Linked DNA regions of Homo sapiens: all the other regions are linked to region 2. The links are contacts of gene promoters, found by promoter capture Hi-C in blood cells and fetal thymus (Javierre and others, 2016). All regions are on one chromosome and are shown on one strand. The core of a region is centred on a gene start or on the middle of the fragment in contact, and the rest is flanking DNA. Distances in the headings are between cores, read along the strand shown.

Evidence for each region. Contacts are between HindIII fragments. The CHiCAGO score rates a contact against its expected background, and 5 or more counts as called.
Region 1: a contact is called between a fragment that was not itself captured here and the fragment with the promoter of TMEM151B in region 2, in 1 of 17 cell types (naive B cells). The highest score is 5.3, in naive B cells.
Region 3: a contact is called between a fragment that was not itself captured here and the fragment with the promoter of TMEM151B in region 2, in 1 of 17 cell types (naive CD4 T cells). The highest score is 5.2, in naive CD4 T cells.
Region 4: a contact is called between a fragment that was not itself captured here and the fragment with the promoter of TMEM151B in region 2, in 1 of 17 cell types (neutrophils). The highest score is 5.1, in neutrophils.
Region 5: a fragment that was not itself captured here is called in contact with the fragment with the promoter of TMEM151B in region 2 in 2 of 17 cell types (erythroblasts and neutrophils); the score reaches 5.7 in erythroblasts.

What each region holds. Positions count from the first base shown.
Region 1 is chr6:43,711,705-43,717,169 of GRCh38, forward strand. No RefSeq gene overlaps it. Among named protein-coding and RNA genes, the nearest start is that of MRPS18A, 27 kb to the left of the region's middle. The HindIII fragment of the contact is 2,271 bases long and covers 2,558-4,828 here.
Region 2 is chr6:44,268,748-44,274,461 of GRCh38, forward strand. TMEM151B (transmembrane protein 151B) reads left to right here and starts at 1,703. Exons shown (of 3, transcript NM_001137560.2): 1 at 1,703-2,130; 2 at 4,319-4,759. The coding sequence starts at 1,996. The HindIII fragment of the contact is 13,529 bases long and covers 1-5,714 here.
Region 3 is chr6:43,682,674-43,687,880 of GRCh38, forward strand. MRPS18A (mitochondrial ribosomal protein S18A) reads right to left here and starts at 5,118. Exons shown (of 6, transcript NM_018135.4): 1 at 4,995-5,118. The coding sequence starts at 5,106. RefSeq lists enhancers at 1,435-1,484, 4,872-4,931, 4,877-5,207. The HindIII fragment of the contact is 1,167 bases long and covers 2,004-3,170 here.
Region 4 is chr6:43,743,706-43,749,626 of GRCh38, forward strand. No RefSeq gene overlaps it. Among named protein-coding and RNA genes, the nearest start is that of VEGFA, 24 kb to the right of the region's middle. The HindIII fragment of the contact is 2,604 bases long and covers 1,540-4,143 here.
Region 5 is chr6:43,653,002-43,659,049 of GRCh38, forward strand. RSPH9 (radial spoke head component 9) reads left to right here. Exons shown (of 5, transcript NM_152732.5): 3 at 2,561-2,690; 4 at 3,576-3,722. Among named protein-coding and RNA genes, the nearest start is that of RSPH9, 11 kb to the left of the region's middle. The HindIII fragment of the contact is 7,215 bases long and covers 1,110-6,048 here.

The DNA.
Region 1 (5,465 bases), core at 2,443-4,942, 560 kb before region 2:
GTGGGTCCTGAATATATTTCAAGGGTCGAGCCAACAAGATTTCTTGATGGTTGAAGGTGAGAGGGAGAGGTGTCAAAGGTGGATCCAAGATTGCTGGCCCGAGCTGTTGGAAGGATAGAGTTGCTATTAGTGGAGATAGGGAAGCTGTGGATGAAGCACGTTTGAAGGAAAAGATCAGAGGTTTGGTTTTGGCCATGTTGAGTCTGAGATGGGCTGGTGGGCTGATGCCTAGATGGCTGACTATTCAAGTCTGGAATCCTTTGATCTGGGTGAACTTACCACTTGAGCAGGGCTGCTGCTGTGCCCTTCCCAAGGCAGGTGGGTGCTGTTCCCATGGACTAGGACTGGGCAGGATTTGGGGTGGGACTGCTTCTGAGGCTTGGTGTCCTCATTTGTAAGATTGACATAATAATACTCATTTTGGGGTTACTCTGTGTGTGTGTGTGTGTGTGTGTGTGTGTGTGTGTGTTTGTGTGTGTGTATAGTGTTCAATGAGATAGTAGAGGCTGGACAGGTGGCTCATGCCTGTAGTCCCAGCACTTTGGGAGGCTGAGGCAGGCAGATCACCTGAGGTCAGAAGTTTGAGACCAGCCTGACCAACATGGCGAAATCCCATCTCTACTACAAATACAAAAATTAGCTGGGCATTGTGGCACACGCCTGTAATCCCAGCTACTCAGGGGGCTGAGGCAGGAGGATCACTTGAAACTGGGAGGTGGAGGCTGTAGTGAGCTGAGATTGCACCGTTGCGCCCCAGCCTGGGTGACAGAGCAAGACTCTGTCTCAAAAAAACAAAAAACAACAACAAAAACAAACAAACAAACAAAAGAGATAGTAGACAGTGCCTAGCACGGAAGAAGCACTCAGTGAACAGTGGTTAAATAACGGCAAAGAACTAACCTGGATTGGCTCCTGCAGATCAGTCATCAAATGGGTTAAGCGGGTGTGGATTCGAGGAAAAGCTAAGAATGGAGGCTAGGAGCATGTGGGATGTGATTTCATTGCTCCAGAGGGACTAGAGCTTGTCGGGCAACAGGAAGGGGAATGACTTGTGAAAGGGGGTGTAGGGGCCACCCAATTGCAGGTGACGGAACAGCCCCTTGGGTTAGGGCTCAGCAGCTGTTCTCTGTGTCCCAGCCAGGATAATGAGGGGGAGGCTGTCTGGTTGCCTGGGGACACAGGCCCTTTGCGCAGTAGCACCAGTAGGAGATACTAACCAGTTCTTCATTTATTAAAATTCTTCAAGTATTAAAGTCTTCTAAGGGGAAAATCCAGGATTTCCTCAGCTTTTCTCTCAGGCCCAGTCCATGGCTTGGTGTGCAGCAAGTCTTTAATAAATGTTAGCATCGGCCAGGTGCCATGGCTCACGCCTATAATCCCAGCACTTTGGGAGGTTGGGGTGGGTGGATCACCTGAGGTCAGGAGTTCAAGACCAGCCTGGCCAACGTGGTGGAACCCCATCTCTACTAAAAATACAAAAATTGGCCGGGCGCGGTGGCTCACGCCTGTAATCCCAGCACTTTGGGAGGCCGAGGCGGGTGGATCATGAGGTCAGGAGATCGAGACCATCCTGGCTAACAAGGTGAAACCCCGTCTCTACTAAAAATACAAAAAATTAGCTGGGCGCGGTGGCGGGCGCCTGTAGTCCCAGCTACTCGGAGGCTGAGGCAGGAGAATGGCGTGAACCTGGGAAGCGGAGCTTGCAGTGAGCCGAGATTGCGCCACTGCAGTCCGCAGTCTGGCCTGGGCGACAGAGCGAGACTCCGTCTCAAAAAAAAAAAAAAAAAAATTAGCTGGATGTGGTGGTGGGTGCCTGCAATCCCAGCTATTCGGGAGGCTGAGGCAGGAGAATCACTTGAACCCGGGAGGCGGAGGTTGCAGTGAGCCAAGATTATACCCCAGCACTCCAGCCTAGGCAACAAGAATGAAACTTCACCTCAAAAAAAAAAAAAAAAAAAAGTCAGGTGTGGTGGCATGCACCTGTAATCCCAGCTACTTGGGAGGCTGAGATGGGAGGATTGTTTGAGCCCAGGAGGTGAAGTTTGCATGCAGTGAGCAGATTGCACCACTGCACTCCAGCCTTGGTGACAGAGTGACATCCTGTCTCAAATCTGAAAAACAAAAAAAAAGTTAGCATCTGTTCTTCCCTCTCGATATACAAAATTGTGGTTAGATCTTATTTTCAAGAATTGCTATGAAGATTACGCGCAGTAGTATATAAGGAGGCATTTTTGCAGCAGCGACATTTAACCCCCAGGATAACTGAGTTCAGAGATGTCAGATAACCTCCTGAATGACACAGGTACTACGGGGTGGAGGGAGGTTTGGGACAATTGGAGCCAGTGGGAGCTGTCAGTGCCGGCGGTGGGGGTCTTCAGCAAGTTTAGAAAGTGAGGAGGGCAGCGCTGGGCAGAGAGGAGGGCAAGTCAAGTCTCTAGGCAGGGCATGGCTTTGACGGCAGGCCTCACAGTAAGATGGGTGTGCTGGATTCAGGATCTAGACGGTGAGATCCCAGAAAGTGAGGCAGGTAGTGGAACCAAGGGAAGACCTCTCTCGAAGCTTCTTGCCGCTCTTAGAGATGAGGGAGCGAATGTTTTTGGGCATGGACCAGACTGTATCTCCCAGAACTCTCTTGGCAGCCTTGCCAGAGGGGTGCTGTTCTCCCATTGCACAAATGAGGCTGCTTAGGCCTGGAGAGGGTAAGGACCTTGCTCAAGGTTGTACAGACTGACAGCGACGGAGTCAGGATTGTGACCCAGCTTTGCTCAACTACAAAGACTGCCCTCTTTCCACTACACCATGAGGTCACCGTGACCCCCAGGAAACAGGGGGATGGACAATATCAGATGACCTTTTAAAGATCTTTGCCAGCAGAAACATTTTCTCAGTCTCTGCTCCTTGGTCTCCCTCCACACTCACCCCTGCCTCCTCCCGCTCTCTTCCCTCCTCATTACTCAACCAGGAGTAACCCCACTGGCTATCTATCTGTGGGTTGGGGGAGGAGACCAGCAGCTGTAGTTACTCAGATTAACCCTCTGCTGCCTGCCCACCTCCCCTCCACCCCATGGATGTGTTGGTGAGGAACCCCCCTCCCCGCTCCCCTGCAGGCAGCCACTGGCTGAGGGGCACTTCCCAGAATTAGCCACTGTGAACAGCTGGCTGGGGGGCGGGGTTGAGGGGGTAGGTGGTAGAAAGGAGGCTAATAGCTTCCAGATGTGCCAAGGCACGAGAGCCTTGGGAGCTTCAGTTTCAGTGGTCTCCTGTGACTGGGATGGGTTGGCCCTCGTGTCCAGGACTCCAGAATTACTAAGGCAGCCAGGCAGATCCCGACTTTCAAGCTGCATGCAAATCTGTGTGCAGGGTAAGGTTGACCTCCAAGCTGCACCTGCAGGGGCCCCGGGAAAACCCCTGCAGCCCAGCTGCTCTCTGTGGTATTAATACTAACACCATCTACCATGTCTACACTGCCAGTAGCATAGGCAACAGAGCATGGTAGTTTCGAGTGCAGGGTTTGGATTCACAGCGCTTAGAATCAAATCTCAGCTCAATCTCTCAACCAGTTCTGGGACCCAAAGCAAACTGCTCAGCTTCCTTAGCCATGAAATAGTTTCTATTTCATAAAGTTATTATTAGTATTAAATGAGATAATCTATGCAAAGTGCTTAATGCAGTGCCTGGCACATAGGAAGTTGTTGTCATTTAGAGAATACCTACCTTATTTCAGAGGCTATGCAATTTTATCCTTGCAACCCTGGAAGTTAGCTATGAGTAGTCTTACTTTTATGAGGCTATATCAAGGCTCAGAGAGGCTAAGTTACCTGTCCAGGATCACACAGGTGTCAAGTGCAGGGTTGCAACTTGAACCCAGGCCAAATGAACCCTAAAGCCCAGGCTCATTATCCTGTGCCCCTCCCTGTGTGTGTGTGTGTGTGTGTGTGCGTGTGTGCGCATGTGTTTTACATTTTCCCATCAGTAGAAAGAGGTTGTAGGACCTGCTAGGGGCTGAGGGCATCATTTTCTGTCCTGCTTACTGAAGAGAGGCCTGACCCAGAAAAGTAGGCAACAGCTTGGGGGTTCAGAGGGGCCCTGGAAGAAGGCAAGTGCCCTGGAGGGGACACCAGGGACAGGAAATTTCAGGAACATGGAAGGAGCAGAGGACAGAATATCAGAGGTTGGGAGAAGTCCAGGTTGTCCTAGGGTGCCCTCAAAGAGTATCCAGAGCCCCCATGAGCGGATCCTCAGGAGCCACTGACTGCCCTTTCCCTGGGTGTGTTTCTTGCTTTGCCAGTTGCTGCTCCTCTTCTGCACGTCTTCTCCTTGGCTAGTGCAGGGTGGTGGAGGGTCTCCAGAATTCCCCTTTACAGGATGGGGAGGACGGGAGACCAGGGAGGAGGAGAACCAAGAGCGAAGGGGCTGGAGCCAGCCAGCAGGGAGGCCCGCCATTGGCCCAGCTCCCAGGGCCTGGGCCTGAGGACTACGGAGCTGCCTGCCCCTCACCATTCCCTCCCACTGCCCCCTAGGGCTCCTTGGCTGCTGAGCCTGCCAGATGGGCCCCCGCCAAGCCAAACAGCTGCCAGGGGGAGAGGAAGAAGCATTTCCGAGCAGAGAGGCCCCTGTAGGCTCCTGCTGAAGCCTAGAATCCCCCTTTCTCACCGCCAAGTGAAGGGGGAATCTGTGCACATGCACATAGGCATGCACGCATGGCACTGGGGAGCCCAGGCGCAGGGCCACGGGACCTGGGACATGCAGGGGCAGAGGGGTGGGGGTCTGGAAGCAGGCTTGGGCAGGGACCATGGCTGTGCCAGGTAATAGGGAGTCTGGGGAATTAAGCTTGGCTCACTCTGAGGTTGGGGAATGTAGTGGATTGAATAGAGACCCCCAAAGTTTATGCCCACCTGGAACCTGAGCATGGGACCTTATTTGGAGATAGGATCTTTGCAGAGGTAATGAAGGTGAGGATTGAGATGCGATCACGCTGGATTAGTGTGGGCCCCAAATCCAGTGAAAGCGTCCTCCTAAGAAACAAGTAAAAACACTGAGAGACGTGGTGGGGACAGCCGTGTGAAGACGCATGTGAAGGTGGTGTCAGAGACTGGAGCCCACAGCCAAGGAATGCTTTGAGCCACCAGAAGCTGGACAGGAACTTGGCCCTGCTGGCATCTCAATTTCAGACTTCTGGCCTCCAGAACTGTGAGAAAATAAATTTCTGTTGTTCTAAGCCACCAAGTTTGTGGTCATTTGTTTCGGCAGCTCTAGAAAATGAAGACAGGGAGGCATATGGAGGAGGGTTGGGGTGGGGGGAGTGGGTAGGTGGAGGCTTCATAAGAAAGCCTTGGAAAACAGGATACAAAATATTGACCATTTATCTTGCCACTATTCTGTGCCAGGCACTTTTAAAGATATTTATCTCTATCCTCACAATGACCCTGCCACAGAGAATTATGGTTTCCATTTTACAGTGAGGT
Region 2 (5,714 bases), core at 453-2,952:
GGATCCTCTGTGGGTTTGGAAAGGCCAAGGTTAGGGGCTCTGCTCTCTGTGGGGGAAGGGGTTGAAACTGGAACAAGAGGGGCTGGAGTTAGCTGTGAGGCCAGCTTCCCAAAAAGCATGGGCAGGAGATGCTGGAATGAACCACCAAGTGAGATTCTGCCTCTGCCAAGGGAGTGAACCAGACCCCCGCCTCTTCTGGACAGCCGCCTTCCTCTGGGCAGGGAGAATGGACCCATCAACCTGGAGAGGACCATGCAGGCTGGATAGCTCTAAGCAATAGGTGGACAGAGAGCCACCTTCACCTCACCTGGAAAGGGAAGAGTAGTAAAATGAAGGCAGGGCCAGGAGTGGGACTAGAGGGGTGGGAGCAGTGGCTCTCCTGTCCCCAACAAGGGGAAGGAACATCCTGGGCAGATCAGTGTGTTTGTACCCTATCCCCCAAAATCAGACATCGAGGCTTTGCCCCAAACTAACTTCCTACCCACAAATATTCCCCATAGATTTTGAGTGGGAAAGATCTGAATTCTAGGACTAGCTCTGTGAGTGCTAGCAGGTGACCTTGAGTAAGCCATTCACTCTCCCTCTGCCTTGGTTCCCTGTGAGTAATTGGGGAGAACAGTTACTGTATGTCAAAGACTCTAATGACACATAGTAGGATTCCACAGTGACTGTGTATGCACAAGATTGATCATGCATGGCTTTTATTATATTCTTCATAATGGTTGTTTTTCATGTTCTTTTCTCCCCATTAGACTTTGTGCTCCTTGCAGGAAGGAAACTGTGTTTCATTTCTGTACTGGGCACACAATAGGTACCCAACACCTGTTTACTGAATGGAGACATCCAGAAATGAATGAATGAATAAATGTCAGGGTCCTTCCTGCTGTGCCAGGGGATACAGGGAAAAGCAGTGTGGGGTGGATGGCCTGAAAGGATAGGCTGCCTGCAGTGGCTCAGCCTGGCTTGCTTCCTACACCTACAAGTCAGAGCCTTAGAAATTGTCCAGTCAACTTCCTCACTGCACAGATGAAGAAATTAAGGCTCAGAGACAGGAAGGCACTTGCCCAAGGTCACATAACTCCTTAATGACAGATACAGAATTCAGAATTAGAACTCAGGTTTCCTGCCCTCCAGCCTAGGGTATTGCACACACTTCACTGCTTCTCTGGAGCTGTTCTTTTAGGGAAGAAAGATGGTTCAGTGAAGGCCGGTTCCAATGCCCTCCCCTCTGCCCTCTGTTAGTCCTTTCCCACATCTAGCTTCAATCTCTTCCCTTTCCCCCTATTCCATTCCTCTGGAAGTCTAGCTTCTGCCTTAACCCTTCACCACGAAACTGGGAGTAAGGATCTTCCCTAGGGTTCCAAGAATCAATTTCCTCTCCCCACTCCTCTGCCCTGGGAACTTGGGGGAACCAGAGATGTGTGTGTGTGTGGGGGGGTGCTGTTGGTTGAACCTCGGGCACCGAGTCCACGGAGAACAGATGGAGAGGGGTTGCGGCACAGATTCTCCCAGGATAGGAGCGCGGGAGGGAGGTGCAGTGAGCAGGGCTGGGAGCGGGGAAGAGGTGTGGGGAGTCCCTGTTGCTTTACCCCTTCGGGGGGTGGTTATTAGGTAGGCTTGGGAAGGCGGAGTTTGGGGGGCTGGGGGCGGGGCTCGGCTGCGCTGGCAGGAAAGGGGGGGCGCGCTGGCTCCAGCTCGGCTCAGACAAAAGGCGGCGGCGGGAGCGGGCGGGAGGCGGAGCGGCGCCGCGAGGGCCTCAAGGTGACACCCGCCCCCGGCCCCGGCCCCCCCCGGCCCGGCCCCCCAGCCTGCCTCCCACCCTCAGCCCCCAGCCCCTTACTCCCGGTGCCCTTTCCGGGCCCCCTCCCCCGGCGGGGGGTGGGGAGCAGCGAGGGCCCCGCCCCCTCCCGTCCTCTCCCCAGGGCCCGCGCAGGATGCCCCCGGCCCCTGGCAGCCCCCCGGGAGGTCCTGAGCTCGACGCGCCCCCTCTACGCCATGTCCCCCCCTGGCTCGGCCGCGGGAGAGAGCGCCGCCGGCGGCGGCGGCGGCGGTGGCGGCCCCGGGGTCTCGGAGGAGCTCACGGCGGCGGCGGCAGCGGCGGCGGCGGACGAGGGCCCCGCCCGAGAGGAGGTGAGAGTCTAGGGCGCCCCTTCCCCGGGCGCGGCCGCAGCCTGGCCCCCCATCCCCCATCGCACGCGTCCCCCGCTGGTTCCGCCGCAGCGCGGCCGGCGCCCCGCACCCCGAGCCGGCCGCTGCAGCCGCAGTCCGCGCCGCCGCCCCCACCCGGCGGCCGGAGCTGTCCGCGGTGCCGGGGAAGGGGCCGCGCCGGGGGCGGGGCTCAGGGGTCCCGGGCAGGGGGAGGGGCCTAGGGGCGGAGCCTCGCGGATCCTGGGCTTATGAGAGTGGGGGCTATGCTCTACCGGGGTGGGGACGGTGGCGGGGATCCTGTCTCACAGAGGAGGATGCTACCTTGAAGGCCAGGAAGGGCGGCTTGTACGGGCTACAGAACGAGGAGGGTACCATGGGGAAGTGGTGGTGGTACCTGATCTGGGACCCTAAGGAGGTCAGATGTGTACGGGGGGTCCCGCCTGTGGTCATTGGGAGTGTGTGTGTGTGTGTGTGGGGGGGGGTGTGCACCTCTCTCTCACGAGGCTCCTGCTGCTTCCTCATATCCCTAGTTGGGGTCCCTAGTACTCAGTCCTCTGAACCTGAAGACAAAGAGACGGAGGAAAGTACCAGGAGCACCCCCACTCCAGCCTCCCATGCACACTTGTGCACACGCATGCACCCTGTACTAGGGCAGAGGCACACAAGCGGGGATGGGCCTGCAGGTAAAGCCCCTTTCAGAGGTACCCACATGGGGACAAGCACATAACCAGGTAGGCACACGAAGGGGCCCGTATGTTCATACCTCCTAAGGACAAGGCTCCCCGAAAGGCACATGTACCCTAATCTCCTTGTCCACATGTACTGTGTGCTATTTCCTAGCTCGCCTAACTATCCATACTTCTAGATCCAGGGACCGATGCCTATTACTGTACCCTTCTTTTCCACTCTTTTCCTCTCTTTCCTGGCTGGCCTCTAGGTCAGGCCTGAGGAATTGAGGGGGTAAGTCAGGATCCCAGCAGGAGGTTGTGTGTGTGTGTGTGTGTGTGTGTGTGGTGGGGGATGGGTTCCTAAAGCTAGACAGCACAGAGGAGGGGTGGGAAAACAGAGGCCACTACAAGAAATTAAACTCAACACTCAATTAGGATGTGGCTGCTGGGGGCCAGCACCATGGTAGGCACCTAGGATGCAAAGAGAATGAAGCATGGGCCCTCAGGAGTACCCAGTGTAGTGGGGAGCCAGACATGTAAACAACTCCTGGGCCAACCCTGGGACAGAATGTGCCAGGAGCTTTAACAGACAGGCTCCAGGAGAGTACCAAAAATAATTTTCTCTTGATAAATTGCTGGGCTTCAAACGTTGTCCTCGCTACCCCAGTCCCACATCCCCTATGCCTGTCCTCTCCTCAGCCACATGCCTCTGCCCTTCTGGATACCTCCTCCTGGACTGCCTGCCGCTCAGGGACCCCAGCCCCCTCCCTCCCATCCTAGGACAAAGGGAAGGATGTCAGGGTGCAGGAGGGAGACTCACAGGGGAACCAGGGTCCAGAACATGGGGAATGAGACTGGGCCTGGGGTTCTCTGGAGGCCCTTATCCAAAGGACGTGTTAGGCTAATTGTGAGGGTTAGGGAGGTGGATGGGTCAGAGGGGAGTAGCTCCTCTAGAACCTAGGACTGAAAAAAATCTGGAAGTGAGGGCCCCACTTGTTAAGTGGGGAAGTGATGTCAGTGGGTCCCTCCCCCTTTTCTAGAGGACCTGGAAGGGGTCTGGGCTGGGGACCTTCCTTCGCTGATGCCTGTCTGTCTGTCCTCCCCTGTCTTCCCTGTCCACATCTTCTGTTTCATTGCCATTTTTGTGTTTGTCTTCGGATGCTCTCTGGGTACCATCCTATCCATCTGTGTTTGCTGCCTGGGCCTCTATCTCTGGCTCTGATCCTTCTCTGCCTCTTGGGGTGTCTCTCTCTGCACTCTCCTGTACTGGCATTCCGGTCCCCTTTCCTGTCCTCTGGCTTGCTCTGTGTCACTTCTGTTTCTACCTCTGGCCCCTGGCTCCCATCTTGGTCTCACCTTTTCTCTCCATATCCCTGTTTCTCTCTGCCTGTTATCTCTGGTGCTGGCCTCTGCCCCTCCATCCCCGTATCCATCTCTGTGCTGGGTCCTGCCTGCTCTCACTTCCCACTCATCTTGGCCCCTCTCCCTGCCCACCTGAGCAGCAGCGTCCCATCCAGCCCTCTTTCACCAAGTCCCTCTGCCGTGAGTCCCACTGGAAGTGCCTCCTGCTCTCGCTGCTCATGTACGGCTGCCTGGGGGCAGTGGCCTGGTGCCACGTCACCACAGTGACGCGCCTCACCTTCAGCAGCGCCTACCAGGGCAACAGCCTCATGTACCATGACAGCCCCTGCTCCAACGGCTATGTCTACATCCCCCTGGCCTTCCTGCTCATGTTGTACGCCGTCTACCTGGTGGAGTGTTGGCACTGCCAAGCCCGCCATGAGCTGCAGCACCGTGTTGATGTGAGCAGTGTGCGGGAACGTGTGGGCCGCATGCAGCAAGCCACGCCCTGCATCTGGTGGAAGGCCATCAGCTACCACTATGTCCGCCGCACCCGCCAGGTCACCAGATACCGCAATGGAGACGCCTATACCACCACCCAGGTGAGGAGCTGGTGGGGAGTGCAGGACATTCAACATGGGAGGTGGCACTTACGTGCTGCCTCACTCCCTCCCCACCTCCCTGGGGGGAAGGTGGGAGGAGCAAAAGGCAGCAGTGAGCTCCCATGAGCATTGCAACAGCAGGGCAATAGCAACAACCATAATCATAACAGCAAAAACCGACCAGGAGCCAGGCTCTGCTCTAAGTATTTTACACACATCAAATCATTTATTTAACCCTCATAACAACCCTATGATGTAGGCAGGTATTCCCATTTTGCAGATGAGGAAACTGAGGCCTGGAGAGTTTAAGTAATGTGTCTAAGGTCAAATAGGCAGTATGTGGTGGAGATGAGACTTGAACTCAATCAATCTGGCTCCAGGATCTCTATACTGTTTAGTGCTTAATGGATCTACTTAGTGATTAATGGCAGAGTGTGGTGGCTCAGGCCTGTAACCTCAGCACTTTGGTGAGGCAGAAGGATCTCTTGAGCCAGGAGTTTGAGACCAGCCCACCCGGCAGCAACATAGTAAGACCCCATCTCTATAAATAATAAAAAGAAGTAGCTGGTGTGGTGGTATGCACCTGTAGTCCCGGCTACTCAGGAAACTGAGGTGGGAGAATCGCTTGAGCCTGGGCAGTTGAGGCTGTAGTGAGCTGTGATTGCCACAGTGCAAGACCCCATCTCAAAAAAAAAAATAAAAATAAAAATAGTGCTTAATGGCTGGAGATGGCTTCACATGCCCAGTATCATAGCATGCTCTTACCTGTTCAGTGAGGTGACTGCTACTGAGTTCTTTCACAGGTATGGACACCTAAACTCAGTGACTTGTCCAAAGTCTGCTGCTCTTAAGTGGTAGTGCTAGGCTCAATCCCAGCTTCCTGGATGTCAAGTTCAAGGGTCTAAGAGGAGGTGGGCGTAGGAAGTCTCACTGAGGGTGGGCAGGTCAATCAGCA
Region 3 (5,207 bases), core at 1,337-3,836, 590 kb before region 2:
ACACAGACCAACCCAAGAATGGGATTTGGGTGAGACTCAATGTGGTCCTCAGTCTGGAAGCCAGCACAGCTGCAGAGGGAAGGTCACTGCAATACGTCAATCTGCAGAATCAACCTACAAACGGAGGATGGGGAGAAATGAAGGGAGGTAGGAGGAGGGCACATCCCCAGTCCAGTAGGGGTTCCAGGCACCCTGCAACTTTGCTAATTTGCAAAAACCAAGTTGAGAGACAACCTAATCTGAGCAACAAGTAGTGGGGAAAGTTTCTAAGAATCCCCAAAGGAACCAAAGGAGAGACACGTTCTGGTACCACTGGAGTCGGCAGAAGAACAATGCCTTGAAACACAAGTGGATAAACATGTGGTTCCCTGCTTGGTGGAGGCACTTGGGTCCTAACCATGAGGTAAACAAGTCTAACAAAACACACATCACTCCCGGCAAAGTACCAAATCCTGAAGTCATCCCACTGGCCCCTGGAAAACAGATCAAAGCCCATGGCAAGCTCCACTGTTCACAAACTCCCCCTCCACGCAGCAACTGTGAGCCAGCGAATCATCTTACTAGAAGCCAGTGGGTAAAACAATAGGCAGATGCTTATCTAACAGAGACAATTTGTCAAACCAGAAGGAATGACCTGAGAACTCACATTGAACTGACACTGATCAGGGTGGTGTCTTAGTGCAGGGGGAGAAGGCCCTGTTGGAACCTGGTCCTTGAGGCCCTTAGTAGATTTTAAGCCCCTCGAAAGAGGAGATAGGAATCAAAATAGTATTGATTTACAGGGTGCATACAAAAACGTGTCAAAACCAAACAAAACCTGATCCATTTTGTTCCTGGCTGCCTCCCTATTCAAGAGAAGTGGGGGTGGCTAAGAAAAGCTGGACTGAGAGATTTAGGCAGTAACAGAAAACTTGTTTAGAAAAAGATGGAATCACCCTTGTGTTCTGAGATATGGCAGTATCAAGTAAGCTAAGGGAAGAGATGAAGCAGTTTTCTAAACTGGAACTAAGGGCCAAAATCTTTCCAGATAAGCACTTCTCATACACATGAAATAATCTGTCCCCAGTGAGGCAACACATTTGCTGGGCACTTATGGACTATACAGCTTCATTCTACCTACTGTGAATTACAGTAGAATAGGAGCCACAGTCTTTGCCCTAGAGGAGGAAAAGAACTAAACTCTGCATGGGAACTTGACTATAATAAAGTCCATGCCTCGTAAAGAGGTCCTTTGAGTACTTCAGTAAATACTTGCCCAGGATGGAGTCCAAGATAACTGAATTATAACAGTGTGGAACAAATGACATTGTGGTGAGATTGCAGTGAATGCAAAAGGAGGAGATGGGGTGACACCTATAGTCTCAGCTACTCAGGAGGATCACCTGAGCTAAGGAGTTAGAGGCCAGCCTGGGCAACACAGCAAGACCTTGTCTCTTAAACAACAACAACAACAACAAACACAGAAAATGCAAAAAACCTTGATGGCCACATGAACAGACACAGTGAACTGCAGCCATGTAAAGACTCAACTGCTTAATAAAAGAGGAAGTGAAAAAAGATGAGGAGTGCAGGGCACTGCTGAAGTGCCCAGAGACCAAGGTCCCTCTTGGAGAGGATCTGTAAAAACCAGGGCCCAAGCAGAGTAGGAAAGACTGGAGTAACTGATGGCTGGGCAGTGGCCCTAATAGTCTTATGTAGGGTCAGGGAGAGGTGTGCCATGTTTGGGATGTGTGCTTGCATTTCTGGCCACTGACAACTTTTTGCAAACACCTTCCTGCCTCAAGCCCTGCTTCCTCCAGTTCATCTTTAACTCTACCATTAAAGTTTCTGGTTCCCTCATCACCTCCCCCTTTCTTTCCCTTGGACCCCTGAGGGAATGTCCCTCTGCCCTATGCTTCAGAATGAGTCGTCTTACTGCTGCACAAAAATTTCTTCCCACTAGCAGGTTACTCTGGACTATGTCCCCTGAATTCTTTAAAGACTCCAACTCACTCCTCTCTCAAAGCTTTTATATGGGACTGCCCAACCTGCCAGGCATACCCTTGTCTGAAACGTTAGGTCTTCCAGAAGGCCTTCTTAACTGACTGTGAAAGAGATGAAGCAAATTCCCTTTGGCCTTTACTCACTTCAATATACCTTTCTCTAAGTGTCTGACAAATCATGTCTTAATTTATATAATAATATGTTTGTTTTTTTATTTTAAATACATTTCCTTCACAAGGGCTCTAAGAGGGATAAGGGAGGAATGAGATCCAACACAGTCTTTGCTAAATCTGGCAGTGCCAACCATAATGGCACTAAATGGTCTTTGGCAAGTTAACTGCTAAGAGCTTTCAGGGAAGGAGGGAACAATAAGGGAGGCCCTGCCATGGAATACCAAGGTGATGTTACTGGTGGAGAGGGAAGAGGGCTGGCTCTACTTCCAACTCCATCACTTATTAGACAGGTGATGCTGGGCAAGCTATTAAACCCCTTGGAACGGCATTTCCTCATTTATAAAAATGAGGACAGTTAATATCTACCTTTAAGGTGTTTTTGAGAAGACTGAATAAATGTATGTGGAAAACCTAGCACAGTATTTGAAGCAGGCACAGTAAGTCACAATTTCTATTTTCGTCCTCCTTCAGTCTTGCTTTTCCCATAATAACCTTTTTTTGGCTTTGTGTATCTCTCTGGTCAAACTTTAAACCAGGCTTTCTCAACAGCAGCAGGACTGCCATTTTGGGCCAGATGGTTCTTTGTTGTGGGGAACTGACTTGTGCATTATGTTTAGCAGCGTCCCTCGCCTCTACCCCCCAGATGCCAGTAGTACCAGTTGTGACAACCAAAAATGTCTGCAGACATGGCCAATTGTTACTGGGGGACAAAATTGCCCCCCAGTTGAAAATCACTGTTTTAGACTGAAAGTCTTCATAGACAGGAAAATTGGTGCTCAGTCCTCAAGAGCTGACTAAAATTATGTATTATTATCTGATACTTTGAAAAGTAGGATGCCTGAATATTTTCAGCAAGAGAACCAGCTTCTTTCCCACAACTTTAAATTCTATGTGTACAATATTGTTTGGGTGTCACATATACCAGCTGAGACTAGTCAAAATTAGCTATATGTATAATACTTTATGCCTTACACATAATGCATAGACTAGCAAAAGAAAATGTTTTCATTTACAAGCTTTGAAGATAGGTGATTCTTAAGAATATAGAATATGGTAGTGCCTTCATGTAGAATCATATTAATTCAACCTAACATTTAGATGAAGGACTTCAGAGACCCATTTGATTTACAGTCCATCCTTTTTTACTTTTTTTAAAGAGGTGGGCGTTCTCACTACGTTGCCCAGGTTAGACTCCAATTTCTGGGCTCAAGTGATCCTCCCACCTTGGCCTTCCAAAGTGCTGGGATTAAAGATATGTACCACTGTACCTGGCTTACAGTCCATCATTTCACAAACTCTCCAAAGGAAAAAATTAAGTCTAACTTCAAATATTTGTTGTTAAAACAAAACGATTCCTCTTGCCTTTTTTTCTGGAAGCATAGCAAAATCTGCCTCAACTTTGAATTTCATAAGAATATGCAAATTGTAGCCAATAGTGTTTGACACTTGGTAGACTCCCCAAAATGGTATGGAGATATGCCTATTTTGCAGCATGGGAACAAATGAAACATCCAAGTCCTCTCTATCATCTGCATGATTTCTTTAGTGTCTTTATTAATGGGTCTACTAATGGATAAGTTAATCAGGCAATATCCAGACTTTTTTTTCTAGCAAATGCTCCACTTCCCTTACGGGCTAAATTCTTCAAACATACTTACTATTTCCATCTCTTCATCAACTATCTCTTTCATTTCTCCAAACTGGATTCCTTGTTTGCCACTCTATTGAAATTGCTGTTTGAAAGCTACAAAGAGACCTCTTCTGAGACAAATCCAATGGCCCCTTCATTAGGCCCTTTTTAGACTTTTCTGCTCCCTCTGACAACAATGATCACTCTTTTCCACTGGATACTTCTCAGCTTTCGTTAAAGGATATGCTGCCCAATACTATGCCAGATCCTCAAAAAACCCCACATCTCTTCTTTTGCACATCACTCATCCTTTCCTGCTTCCAGGAGTACACAAAGGAAGGCTATGTCCTAAAAGACCGTTTCACTCTCCGCCAGATTCCATCCTTTTGTGAGCCTGCTCAAGACACATCCTCTTTATGAAAACTTCCAACTGGGTTTGCCGTTTCCAGTAACTGAGTCTCCCTGTACTTCGTCACGTAAAAGGCTAACTTGCATTTATTGGAGTGTGTATATACATAATCTCATTAGAACCTAAGCTTTTCAGAAAAAGGGCTGTATTTTCTGTCTCCAGAATTCCTTCACAGCTTGAAGCATAGCACTTGGCATTCAGTAAACTCTCAGTTGATGCTCGAATCAGGCCGCTTTCCCAGATTAAGATTAATGAAAAGCTGAACTACCATCCTGCATTTGCCTATGTCTCAGCTATTCAATGGCCTTTCCACTTTGGCCTCCCCCTCACAGGGAGACTAGCGGCCCGGGGCAGAGAACGCCGCCATCAGATCACAGCATTTTGAGAAGGGAAAGTGGAAAGGGAGGCTCTGGGAGGGTACCCAGATGGCCTTCCTTCGTGATCCAGAGACTCTTTAATAAAAGAGACTGCGATTCGGAGAACATGGAAGGAAGAATTAACATGCAAACCCTTTCCGAAAACTTTTCTGAGCCCTAGGACAGGTTTAGTGTCTGCTCCTGCTAAGTAAGCAGGCTTTTCTCTCCGTCCTCCTCCGCCTTGTGAAGATACTCACAAGGGGCAGGAGATCAAGATAAGGCACCAGGGTGTGGAAGGGGCTTTTAAGCACGCCTGGGGAGCCGGTACCTCCAAAGTTTCAGAATCGGACGAAGGAAAGGTAGGAAGGAGCGCACCGGGGCTGGCGGAAGCAGTCTCTGCCGCTCTTCTTAATTTCAGGAGGTTGCTGGGACGCATGACTCACCTTCCCTGAACCCGCGAGCTGGAAGCCGAGACCAGCTGGTCGCTGCCGGGCCCGCTAGTAGCCCACGGAGAAGCCGCCCACAGCCGGACACCAGAGCCTTGAGGGCCGCCATCTTCAAAAACCTACCCTGACCTCTCGTCCATTTCCGCTTCCGGAACGTAGCGCCCGCCGCCGCAGTGGTGGGGCAGGAACGGCGGGGCGGGGTTGTAGTTC
Region 4 (5,921 bases), core at 1,592-4,091, 520 kb before region 2:
CTAAGGCCTTCCCACTAGGGCTTCTCCAGAGCAGAAGACACAGAGAGGAAAATAGGCTTTCCAAGTTGGAGGGCAGGACAGGTTGCATAATTTGTGGGCCCAGTGAAAAAAGAAATATGAGTCCCACATTGTGCTGAGGAGAGATCTGTGGCCTGAGAGGGGAAGGGCCCTGGCCTCTGCTACCCTGGGAGGCAACATCACAGCCAGGAATGGGGCCTGCCGCTCTTACTCCTTAACCAGTGCTCACCCCAGGCCCAGCTGTGCCAGGAAGGCCTTGTTTCCATCCTGGGCCTTCGCTTGCCTTCCCCCTGCTTATTCCTGGGCCTCCAAAAAGCTTCTCTGTCCCCCAAGCTCTCCTCTTCCAGGAGGTCTTCCTTTCCTGTTTGGACAGTTTTACCTGCTGGTTAGTCCCATGCTTCTTCCCCTTTCCAGGCTCTCTCATAGCTTTGCCCTTGACCTTCTGAGCCTTTGTTTACTTTTTATGTGAGTGACAGAGAGCAGCCTCCTTCCTCCCTTGGCCATAGTTCTTTGGGGGTCTTCTTCATCATACTAGGAGCTCTCTGAGGATAGGGCAAGCTCTCCTTTCAGACTGGGGGTCCCTGGGGTTGGAAGTCTTTCTTGGGACTCCCCCTAGGCTTCCCTTGGCAGACCCAACGTTGCACTAGAGGGGTGACTGTGCCTGGTGTGGTGCCCAGTTGGCTGTGTGTGTGCACACGTGTGTGTGTGTATGTGTGTATTGTGTGGGGAGGGTTTGCTTTTGGTTTTCCATCACCTTCCCTGTCCTTTCCTGATCAGATCCTCTGAGTGAGGCTGGTTAGGGAGATGGAGCTTGGAATGAGGGAGGAAGATGGGGTGGTATGGCACCCCAGCCCTACGTCCGGCCAGGGCTCCAATGGAGTGTGGGCAGCATGACCTTCTTCCTGGGCCTCCCGCTGGGGTGTGAGGGAGGAAGGCCGGTCTTGAGCTGGGGTCAGGGTGGAGAGGGGCAGCCTTTCAGCTGAGGTCCGTCACTCAGAGGCAGGGTCCGTGGCATTTGGCCGGCAGGGGAGAAGGGAGGGAATGTGAGGAATAGGCTGACTCAGCAGTTGCCCCCTCCCAGCTCTGGGGACAGGCGCTGGGGGAGGACTGATTGCTGAGAACATGCAGATGGTGGTGGCAGTTCCTCTGGGTTGTGTTTTGAGGGGAGGGCTGGGGAGAGATAGGAGTCAGAAACACCAGAGTCCCCCAGAAATACTGGGGAGGCATGAAAGGGAGCTGGAGGAGGGGAACCCAGGAGAGGGTACCTTTTGACATTGCCATAGCTGTGAATATCAGTGACATGCAAAGGAATGCCCCAAACACGAAGAAGGCCGCTCCTTTGTGGGGATGAGCTGGGGACAGTATGAGGAGAGGGCTTGGCTAGGGGGCAATGGGACCTGTGAGGGAGTAGAGGGTGTTAAGAGTGAGCCAACAGCCGCCCAGCCCGGCCCAGCCGAAGGGGAGGTAGACGGCAGGCCTGCTTTTGCCGAATCTAGAGCTCCTCTCTGCAACTTGATCGTAAGCTTCATTAAGGCAGAGGCCGTCTCATAACATCTCTTAATTATCTGACAACCCCTCCACAGGGCTGGGCACATATAAGCATTGTGCCCAAGTTTAATTTTGAGTATACTTAAATTATTTTTCAAGCAGTCTTGCAATATCAGGAACCCCACATTAAACTCATACCCATAATCCCAGCTATTTACTTTTCTCCTTGTACCTTCCAAAATCTTTATAGGCATGCTTACGTAAGGGTGACTTAGGTAAACGCGGCCTGAGTCAGGCTTTTCCACCAGCTTTGCCGGGTGCACTGGTTGACGGGGTGTAAGTGTGTGTATCGGGCTCCTTTGCTCTGAAGTAACCCTTGTTTGCAGGCAAGGAGAGCTGGGGGCACCCTCACTACCCAGTCTCCATGCTCTTCCCTCTGTTTACATTGCTGCCAAGCGGGCACCTGCTTCATTTATATTCTCACTTGAAACAACTCTGACTTATGCAAAAATGGACTTACTTAAGATTTACCAGAACAGAATACTAGCTTGATTTGGGGACTGTGTGTGTGTGGCAATGGCTGGTTGATTTCAGGTAGTGATTCCCAAACATTTTGAGCTGGAAAACCCTATTTTAACACTAAAAAACAAAAACAAAAACAAAACCTTCAGAGAACTCCAAAAGACAGTGATTGTATAACAGATATTCATCATCTGAGAAAAATCCATGAAGACAACAAACTGTGGTGAAGTTAGAAATAATTTGAAATTATCACATATTATTGATCTCCATAGTATCTACATAAGTTTGAAAGAAAAATAGCAAATGCATTCAGGAATATTATTCACTTGACTATGTGAGCAAAGATGTTCATGACAGCATTATAATTTAAAGTCAAATAACTAGGGTCTGTTGGGAGATATTGTCCCCTACTTGGGTACGTGACTCCACCATGTAAATGCAGCACTGTACTGTATGGAACTGTGTATATGTGTGTATATGTGTGTGTGTATGTGTGTGTGCGTGTGTGTGTGTGTGGAGGAGGGCACATGTGAAGAATGGGAAGGGAATGTATTAGAACACAGTGTTTTGCTTGTGAAAATTCAGTGGTCTCTGGGGGAGGAGGGGGAGGTAAGTGACAGGAAGGAGCTGTGCTGATGGCTGAAATCTGTGGGTGCTGAGAAGTCCTTTCTGAGAGCAAAGTTAGTGTCTGGCTTTGAGTTCTGGGGTGGGGAGAGGAGGCTGAAGAGGCAGGCAAGAGCCAGACCACACAGGTTCCGGTGGACCATGTGAGGCAGAGAATCCTTATCCTTAGAGAGGAGATGTCGTCTCTGGATGTGGTGTGAGACAGCCGGGAAGTTCCTCCCTACACGAAGATCCTTCTTGCTGTGTGTTTTTCCCCATCCCCTCTTCATTTCTCTGCATTTTACATCACTGCTCGCTGGGCCCAGGGCAGCTCAGTGTAAATCTTCAATCTGCAGTTCCAGGAACCCTGTTTCCCAACCCCCAAAATCTGGGCCTGAGGTCTGACAAGTCCCAGAAGAGCTGCGGGGATTATGAGGCAGGATGTGTAAAATCAGGGGCGTCCAGGAACGTGGAGCTTGACGGTAGCAGGAGGAGTGGAGAAGCTGGCCTGGGACTGACTCCCATTCCCCTAATTTGGCATCCTGCCCCCTCCCTTGGGGGGCTGGGAGCGGTCAGCTCCAGGCTTCCCCACGTCTCCACGGCTCCGCTGCCCGTGCTCTTCTGAGAGCAACGTGCTGAGGGAGCACTTGTGAGCCATGAGGGCAGGAGTTGGGGCAGGGGTCAGGGTGCTTTTTAATTTCTCGTTAGCAATGACAGCTGTAGAACTCAAGCAATTAAGGAGGACGACTCCCCCAGGATGCCAGAGGGCCAGCCCCCCGCCAAGCTGTGCACAGCTTCCTCCCTTCCTCCTTTTCCATGTCCCCCCTCACCCCCATCACAGGCTTCCCCTCCCTGGGCCCAGGAAGCTGTGAGCCACTGTTCAGGGGAGGAAAGGGGTGCAAAAGTTCCCCTTCCAACACTTTAGCAGGGAGAACAGAACAAAAGGAAGATGGAGGGGCTCCTGAGTCTGGAAGCTGCTTCTTCCTCCCTATGGTCCACGCCTGGGGGTGGGCCCGTCCTGTGGAAAGGGGTCCACTCTCTTCAGAGTTGGTATTGAGGATGGGGACATAAAAATGACCAAAGGTTGGCTGGGTGTGGTGGCTCACGTCTGTAATCCCAGCACTTTTAGAGGCCAAGGTGGGAGAATCATTTGAGCCCAGGAGTTTGAGACCAGCCTGGGCAACCATGGGCCATGGTTTGAGACCATGGGCAACATGGTGAGACTCGGTCTCAAAAAAAAAAAAAAAAAAAAAAAAGACCAAAGGCATAGCAATTTTTCCTGTGCTTCTAAACTGTTCTTTTTTTCTAAGATCTATAGGGCATTCAACTTCTCTTGAATTTCTTCTTCATCATTTGGCTGGAGCTTTTCAGCAGCCTACTCCAGATCCTGCCTACCGCGTGGACTTGTTCCGTCCCCACCTGTCGGGGGAGGGTACATGTGTTCAATGCTATGCTTTTATTAACATCAGTCTTGCTGCATGGGCGGGGACATGTTTTTGGGTGCAGGAGCAAAGCTTTATATCCCTGTCCAAACATCTCACTCCACCCAGCAGCTGATACGTGAAACCCTACCATTAATATTTGCCTCCTTTACGGTCATCTCCTTGTGAAATTGCAAACACTCTTGGGAAGGAAACCTCTTCGGCATGAACAAAAGATCTGACAGCTGACATTGATATGGAGTAACAGGGGTGGGAGGCTTGCTGGCCAAGATTCCCAGGGATGGGGAGGAGTTGGGGGCAGAGGGTTAAAGAGAAGAGTGGACACACTTCATAGTTTTCCCCTACTGCTGGTTAAGTCTTTAAAGCCTGGAAGACTAACAGACCAGCTGTCTTCTCTGACCTAAAAGAAAAGACATCCTTCTCATGTTCATGGTCATGACCATTGCCATCAACAGCCTCATATGGATGTTGAACACCAATGATGCCTCAAAGACATTAAACACCTGGCCCTTGCTCTCAAGATGCTCACAGCTCACTATGGGGCACCCCGCTCACTTGAGTGTGCAATGATGAGCCTATGAAAGTTTTAGAGGAAGGGCTTACATGTACCAAGTGTTATCTAAGGGAGATTAGCCAGGTGGTGGTGACCAAGGTGGATTGAGCACAGGGCAGAAGAGATGGTGAAGCTTGCTGGGAGCCCTTTGCCATCACGCAGGTGAGAGCTGAGAGGCCTCAGATAGGCTGATGGCAGTGGGAACACAGATGCTAGGACTCATAGAAAGGCATTTTGGAAAATCAATCTCCAGGACTCTGACTATGGAGAGGGTAACAGAAGGAGGAATTGAGCATCAGCCCAAGGTTCAGAACTTGGGTCCCCCAAAGATGGTGGCAACAGAAAGGGAAGTCTGTTGGAGCCATGTTTGAATGGAAGGTGAGTTCTGGTGCAACATGCTGCATTTAAAGAGAGGTCGTCCTACCCCATGCCCCACCACAAACAAGGCAGGACTGAAGGCAAGCTGTGCATACACAGAATGCAATTTTTCTGAAAGAACTTCTACAAATATCAGCAGTCCTTCAAAGTGGTCAGTACAAGAGGCCAGGCAAGTTTTCCAAAGAGCTCGCCTTTGTTCAACACATTTTTTACTTATTTATGGGATATTTCTTGTGTGTCCACTAGGTGCCTGGCGCAGTCTAGTGCAGGAGACATGTAGACTGTTGGTTTCTGCCTTTAGGGAGCTTACTCTCTAATTAGGGTGATATTAAAGTCAAACTCATAAGAAAGGGTCTGTGTATCTATGACTTCCCATCATATAGAACATAATAGCTTTTTTATTGCTGTGCAACAAATGACCACAAACTTAGCACCTCCAAATAACACCTATTGATTAGCCTACAGTTCTGTAGGTCAGAAGTCAGGGACAGTGTGAGTGGGCTTCTCGCTCAGGGTGTCACAAGGCTGAAATCAAAATGTCAGCTGAACTGAGTTCTTTTTGTTTTTGTTGTCGTTGAGACAAGGTTTCACTCTGTTGCCCAGGATAGAGTGCAGTGGTGTGATCATGGCTTGCTGCAGCCTTGAACTCCTGGGCTCAAGTGATCCTCTTACCTCATCCTCCTGAGCAGCTAGGACCACAGATGTGCACCACCACACCTGGCTAATTTTCAAAATTTTTGTAGAGAGGGGGTCCCACTATGTTGCCCAGGCTGGTCTTGAACTCCTGAGCTCATGTGATTCAGGCATGAGCCACCAGGCCTGGCCATGGATAATCTCATTTTTAGAGTCACCTATGCCATGGAACAACCTAACTGCGGGGGTGAAACCTATCATATTCACAGTCCTGGGATTATGTA
Region 5 (6,048 bases), core at 3,467-5,966, 610 kb before region 2:
TAGAGATGGGGTCTTGCTATGTTGCCCAGGCTGGTCTTAACTCCTAGTTTCAAGCAATCCTCCCACCTCAGCCTCCCAAAGTGCTGGGATTTATAGGCATGAGCCATTTCATCCAGCTGATTTCCAAGTTTTAGTTCTAACAAACAGTACCATAATAAATGACCATATAGCTGGGCATGGTGGCTCACGCCTGTAATCCCAGAACTTTGGGAGCCCAAGGCGGGCAGATCACGAGGTCAGGAGTTTGAGACCAGCATGGCCAACATAGTGAAACTCCGTCTCTACTAAAAATACAAAAAATTAGCCAGGCACAGTGGCGCCTGTAATCCCAGCTACTCGGGAGGCTGAGGCAGGAGAATGGCTTGAATCCGGGAGGCGGAGGTTGCAGTGAGCCAAGATCGCGTCATTGCACTCCAGCCTGGGTGACAGAGCAAGACTCCGTCTCAAAAAAAAAAAAAAAAAAAGACCATATAGACATCACTTCCATTGTGTGTAATTCCTGGGAAAGTCAATTCCTGGAAATAGACTTGCTAAGTTAACAAGTAAGGAGCCTATGTTTTGAAACAATACAATCCCAGAATTCAAAGCACAGCTGTTGCACTTGAACCTGGGTGATGCCGAAAGTCTGAGTCTAGGTCTGTGAGCCCTCAGCTGCATCCTCACCCACTCCTACCTGATTGACTTAATCTTCCTGAGCCTGTTTTTTTTGAGACGGAGTTTTGCTTTTGTTGCCCAGGCCAGAGTGCAATGGCGTGGTCTCGGCTCACTGCAACCTCCGCCTCCCGGATTCAAGTGATTCTCCTGCCTCAACCTCCTGAGTAACTGGGATTACAGGCATGCGCCACCACACCCTGCTAATTTTGTATTTTTGGTAGAGACAGGGTTTCTCCATGTTGGTCAGGTTGGTCTCAAACTCCCGACCTCAGGTGATCTGCCCACCTCAGCCTCCCAAAGTGCTAGGATTACAGGCGTGAGCCACCGGGCCCAGCCGTGAGCCTCAGTTTTATTATTATTTTTCTGTAAAATTGAGATAATTGTATTTACTTTGCAGGCTTGTGTGGATTAAATGAGGTGACATATTTAAAGACACTGGCCTCAGCACTTATTAAAGCTTAGTTTCTACCTTTCTTTTGTAAACCATTCAGGTAGGCTGCCCATGGCAAATAGGTGGCTCCGTGACTCTCTAGGGGCCTCTGTTGACACGCATTCTCTGTCGAGCTCTTCCACAAAATCTCTATGAAATCCTTTTGTTCAGAGTTGCCCTAGATAGTAATTGTAACTAAATTTCATCTGTGTAAAAAGGGTATGATATGGGGAAATGCTTGCAAAATAATGTTAAACTGAAGAGAAGGATATGAAACAATATAAACTGTGACTCTAATTTTGCTTTAAATATATGCATAGAGGGCTGGGTGCTGTGGCTCACCCTGTAATCCTAGCACTTTGAAGGCTGAGGCAGGGAGACTGCTTGAGCCCGGGAGTTGGAGATCAGCCTGGGCAACATGGAGAAACCCCATCTCTACCAAAAATACAAAAATTGACTGGGCGCAGTGGCTCACGCCTATAATCCCAGCAGTCTGGGAGGCCAAGGTGGGTGGATCACCTGAGGTCAGGAGTTCAAGACCAGCCTGGCCAACATGGTGAAACTCTGTCTCTACTAAAAATACAAAAATTAGCTGGGTGCAGTGATGCACGCCTGTAGTCCCAGCTACTCAGGAGGCTGAGGCAGGAGAATCTCTTGAACCTAGGAGGTAGGGATTGCAGTGAGCTGAGATCCCTGCACTGTACTCCAGCCTGGGCGACAGAGCAGGACTCTGTCTCAGAAATAAATAAATAAAAATAATAATAAAAAAAGACAAAAATTAGCTAGATGTGGTGACATGTGCTTGTACTTCCAGCTACTCAGGAGGCTGAGGTGGGAGGATCATCTGAGCCTGGGAAGTTGAGGCTGCAGTGAGCCATGATTGTGCCACTGCCCTCCAGCCTGGATGATAGAGTGAGACCCTGTCTCAAAACAAAAACAAAATGACAGCAACAATAACAACAAAACATGAAGAAAGTATACCAATATGTTATCAGTGATTATCTTTAGGAGGTAGGATTATGAGTGGTTTTAGTTATCTTTGGTATGTCTTTCTATATTATCCAAATATTCTACAGTGAGCATGATTACTTTTATATTTTAAAAAGGCAAAATAAGCAACAGTTAAATATGCTGATAGGATGGTATGCCTCTGGAAGAGTACATGAGAAACCTTCAATGGTGGCTGCCCCCAGTGAGGGCAACTAGGGTCTCGGACTGGGGTGAGAGAAAGACTGATTTTTTCCTGTAGTTTTGAATATCATACCACCCTTATGTATTACGAATTAAAAAACAAATAAAAAGAAAGGAAGAAAATCTTGATAGGAAGGAAGGCGAGGGCCTGCCCAGCGTGATCTGTGTGGCTCTGGGGTCCACTACACTGCAGTGGTGCGGGTGAGATGGCCGTGCAGAGGGACCTTGCGCCGGGGTGCCTGGGCACAGTGCCCTGGCAGGGGGGCTCCTCTCCTGTCTCCTCAGGTCCAGATCAAGGAAGAGACCCGCTTGGTGTCTGTCATTGACCAGATTGACAAGGCTGTGGCCATCATCCCCCGAGGCGCCCTCTTCAAGACCCCTTTTGGACCCACCCATGTCAATCGGACCTTTGAAGGTGAGTTCTCTGGGGCCCCTCTCAAGGGCTGGGGGTATCTTTTCCCAAGCACAGTAGAACATATGTCTGGGAGTCCAGCAGGGGGGCTTACACACTTTATCAGAGAAGGAGTAGCTGTGACCTTATCACCTGGGAGGGTGTGCCCAGTGACCTGGCACCAGTGGTCGGTATGGGCTCCCCATCTCCTGGCCCCTGACTCTCTTCAGTTTGAGGAGTGGGAGAGCATATAGTCCCTTGGTCCCAGGGCTTTACATGGGTCTGGGCTACCTGCCTTTTCCTATCTCCTTCCTCCTTGGACTTCCTTCCTTCCTTCCTTCCTTCCTTCCTTCCTTCCTTCCTTCCTTCCCCTTCTTTCCCTTCTTTCCCTTCTTTCCCTCCTTCCCTCCCTCCCTCCCTCCCTTTGTTTCTTTCTTGATGGTGTTTTGCTCTTGTCATCCAGGCTGGAGTGCAGTGGCACAATCTTGGCTCACTGCAACCCCTGCCTCCTGGGTTCAAGCGATTCTCCTGCCTCAGCCTCCCGAGTAGCTGGGATTACAGACACCCTCTACCACGCTCGGCTAATTTTTGTATTTTTAGTAGAGACGGGGTTTTGCCATGTTGGCCAGGCTTGTCTCAAACTCCCGACCTCAGGTGATCTGCCTGCCTCGGCTTCCCAAAGTGCTGGGATTACAGGCATGAACCATCGTGCCTGGCTGGACTCTCTTTGTGGCAGGATCTGGTCCGAGTTTGGACTGAGGGAATGCTAATCCCTTTCCTTCCTTTAGCTCTCTGACAGTGGTTGACAGGGTCTTTTGTAAGCCCTACCATGTGGTCCCAGTGCAGACAGAAAGGGGGCTGGGGGGTTTTGGGCTAACCATCATTTTCCTGCCTGCCACCTCTTTCTAGGACTGTCCTTGTCTGAGGCCAAGAAGCTCAGCTCCTACTTCCATTTCAGGGAGCCTGTTGAGCTAAAGAATAAGACCTTGCTTGAGAAGGCTGACCTGGACCCCTCCCTGGATTTCATGGACTCCTTGGAGCATGACATTCCCAAAGGTAATAGTCCATTACCTGGAGGCCATGGGATCTGTCCTCAGGCCATAGCAGTGGGCCATGCCACCTGCCATTTTCCTCTGAGACTGGAACCAAGGGCCTAGTGGGAATTGGTGGTTCACCATGGGTTTTTGAGGGTGGAGCTTCCCCAGGGCCCAGCTTATAGTACACACTGATGAGTGTCCTTGAATTACAAAAGGTAGGATTGTTTTCCATATGCTTTCACAGAGAGGAGGTATCTCAATGTCTCTTGATTTTTGTAGCAATCTTGAATGGGGGCAGGTTGGGAATCTTCTCCCAAATATCCTTGAAAATACTAGCCATACTTACATCTCAACTGTTACTTTTGGGATTCTGGTATTTAGGGACTGGATATAATGCTTGGCCCATAGCTGGTGGTGCTGATCCCATTTCCTTCCCTTGAGCATCTCTGGTAGAGAAGAGCATGTCCTTGGATTCTATGACCCAATTCAGGTTCTAGGCTCTAGGCCATCGGGGGCCAGGCCCAAGGCACAGACTCAGCGCCCCACTTCTTTCTCTTCCCTTGTTGGGTGTTCCTGAGAATGAGAGGGATCTAATGATGATGATGGCAATGATAATGACAACAATAACAACTAACTCATGAAATGTGACACTGCTTATCATGTGTCAGGCACCGTACTCAGCTCTTGCCATGCCTTATCTCATTTTAATCTTCACAGCCAGCCTATTATTTTTATCCCCATTTTACAGATGAAGAAACAGGGGCTCAGAGAGTTAAACCCAAGGACACAGTAAGTGTTAAAGTGTTAGACTCCACAGTTCTGGCATGAACTGGATTGTTAAGTAAACAATAGTTTAAATGACAATAGGAACCACAGGACAATAGTCACCCACACCTCTAGGGGGAAACACTTCTGAAGAGCAGCAAGCGACCCAACTGGGGGGTATCTCAGGATGGGGATGGGGATGACAAGGGCTGTGGAATCAGACAGGCTGGGTTGGAATCCTGAATTGGCCACTTACTAGCTGTGTGACTTCATGCAAATCCCTCCATTTCCCTGTGCCTCAGTTTCCTCATTTCTAAAAAGGGGAGAATTGATATTTTCTACCTCAACGAGTTATGAGAATTAAATGGACTACTCCTATACCACCCTGAATGTGCCTAGTCTCTTCTGATCTTGGAAACTAAGCAGGGTCAGGCCTGGTGAGTATTTGGATGCAAGAATTAAATGAGTTAACTCATGCACAAAATGCTTATAACAGTGCCTAACACATAGTAAGGACTCAAATGAAAATGAACACACCAGCCGGGTGCGGTGGCTCACGCCTGTGATCCCAGCACTTTGGGAGGCCAAGGTGGGCAGATCACTGGAGGTCAGGAGTTCGAGACCAGTCTGGCCAACATGGCAAAACCCCGTCTCTACTAAAAATAGAAAAATTAGCTGGGTATGGTAGCACACGCTTGTAAACCCAGCTACTCAGGAGGCTGAGGTAGGGAGAATTGCTTGAATCTGGGAGGCAGAGGTTGCAGTGAGCTGAGATTGCGCCACTGCACTCCAGCCTGGGGCAACAGCGCAAAACTCCGTCTCAAAAAAAAAAAAAAAAAAAGAAAAAAAAAAAAAGAAACGAACATATCTCAGAGATATTGCAAATTTGGCTCCTGACCACCATAATAAAGTGAACATCGCAATAAAGTGAGTCACACATTTTTTGAAAAGTTGTGTTTGTACTATACTATAGTTTGTTAAGTATGCAATAGCATTGTGTCTAAAAATGTTAAAAAAATTAAAAATTCTTTATTTCGTAACAATACTAACGATCACCTGACCCTTCAGCGAATCATAATCTTTTTGCTGGTGGAGGGTCTTTGCTCTGTCGCCTGGGCTGGAGTGCAGTGGCGCAATCTCGGCTCACTGCAAGCTCCACCTCCCGGATTCATGCCATTTTTCCTGCCTCAGCCTCCCAAGTAGCTGGGACTACAGGCGCCCGCCACCATGCCTGGCTAATCTTTGTTTTTGTATTTTTAGTAGACGGGGTTTCACCTTGTTAGCCAGGATGGTCTCAATCTCCTGACCTTATGATCCGCCTACCTCGACCTTCCAAAGTGCTGGGATTACAGGTGTGAGCCACCATGCCCAGACATGCCCAGCTAATTTTTGTATTTTTAGTAGAGATGGGGTTTCACCACATTGGCCAGGATGGTCTCGATTTCTTGACCTCGTGATCTGCCCGCTTCAGCCTCCCAAAGTGCTGGGATTACAGGTCTGAGCCACCAAACCTGGCTTACGTAATATTCTTAATCCTTTGTTGTTCTCATTTCAACAATGTTCACAGCATCTTCACTAGG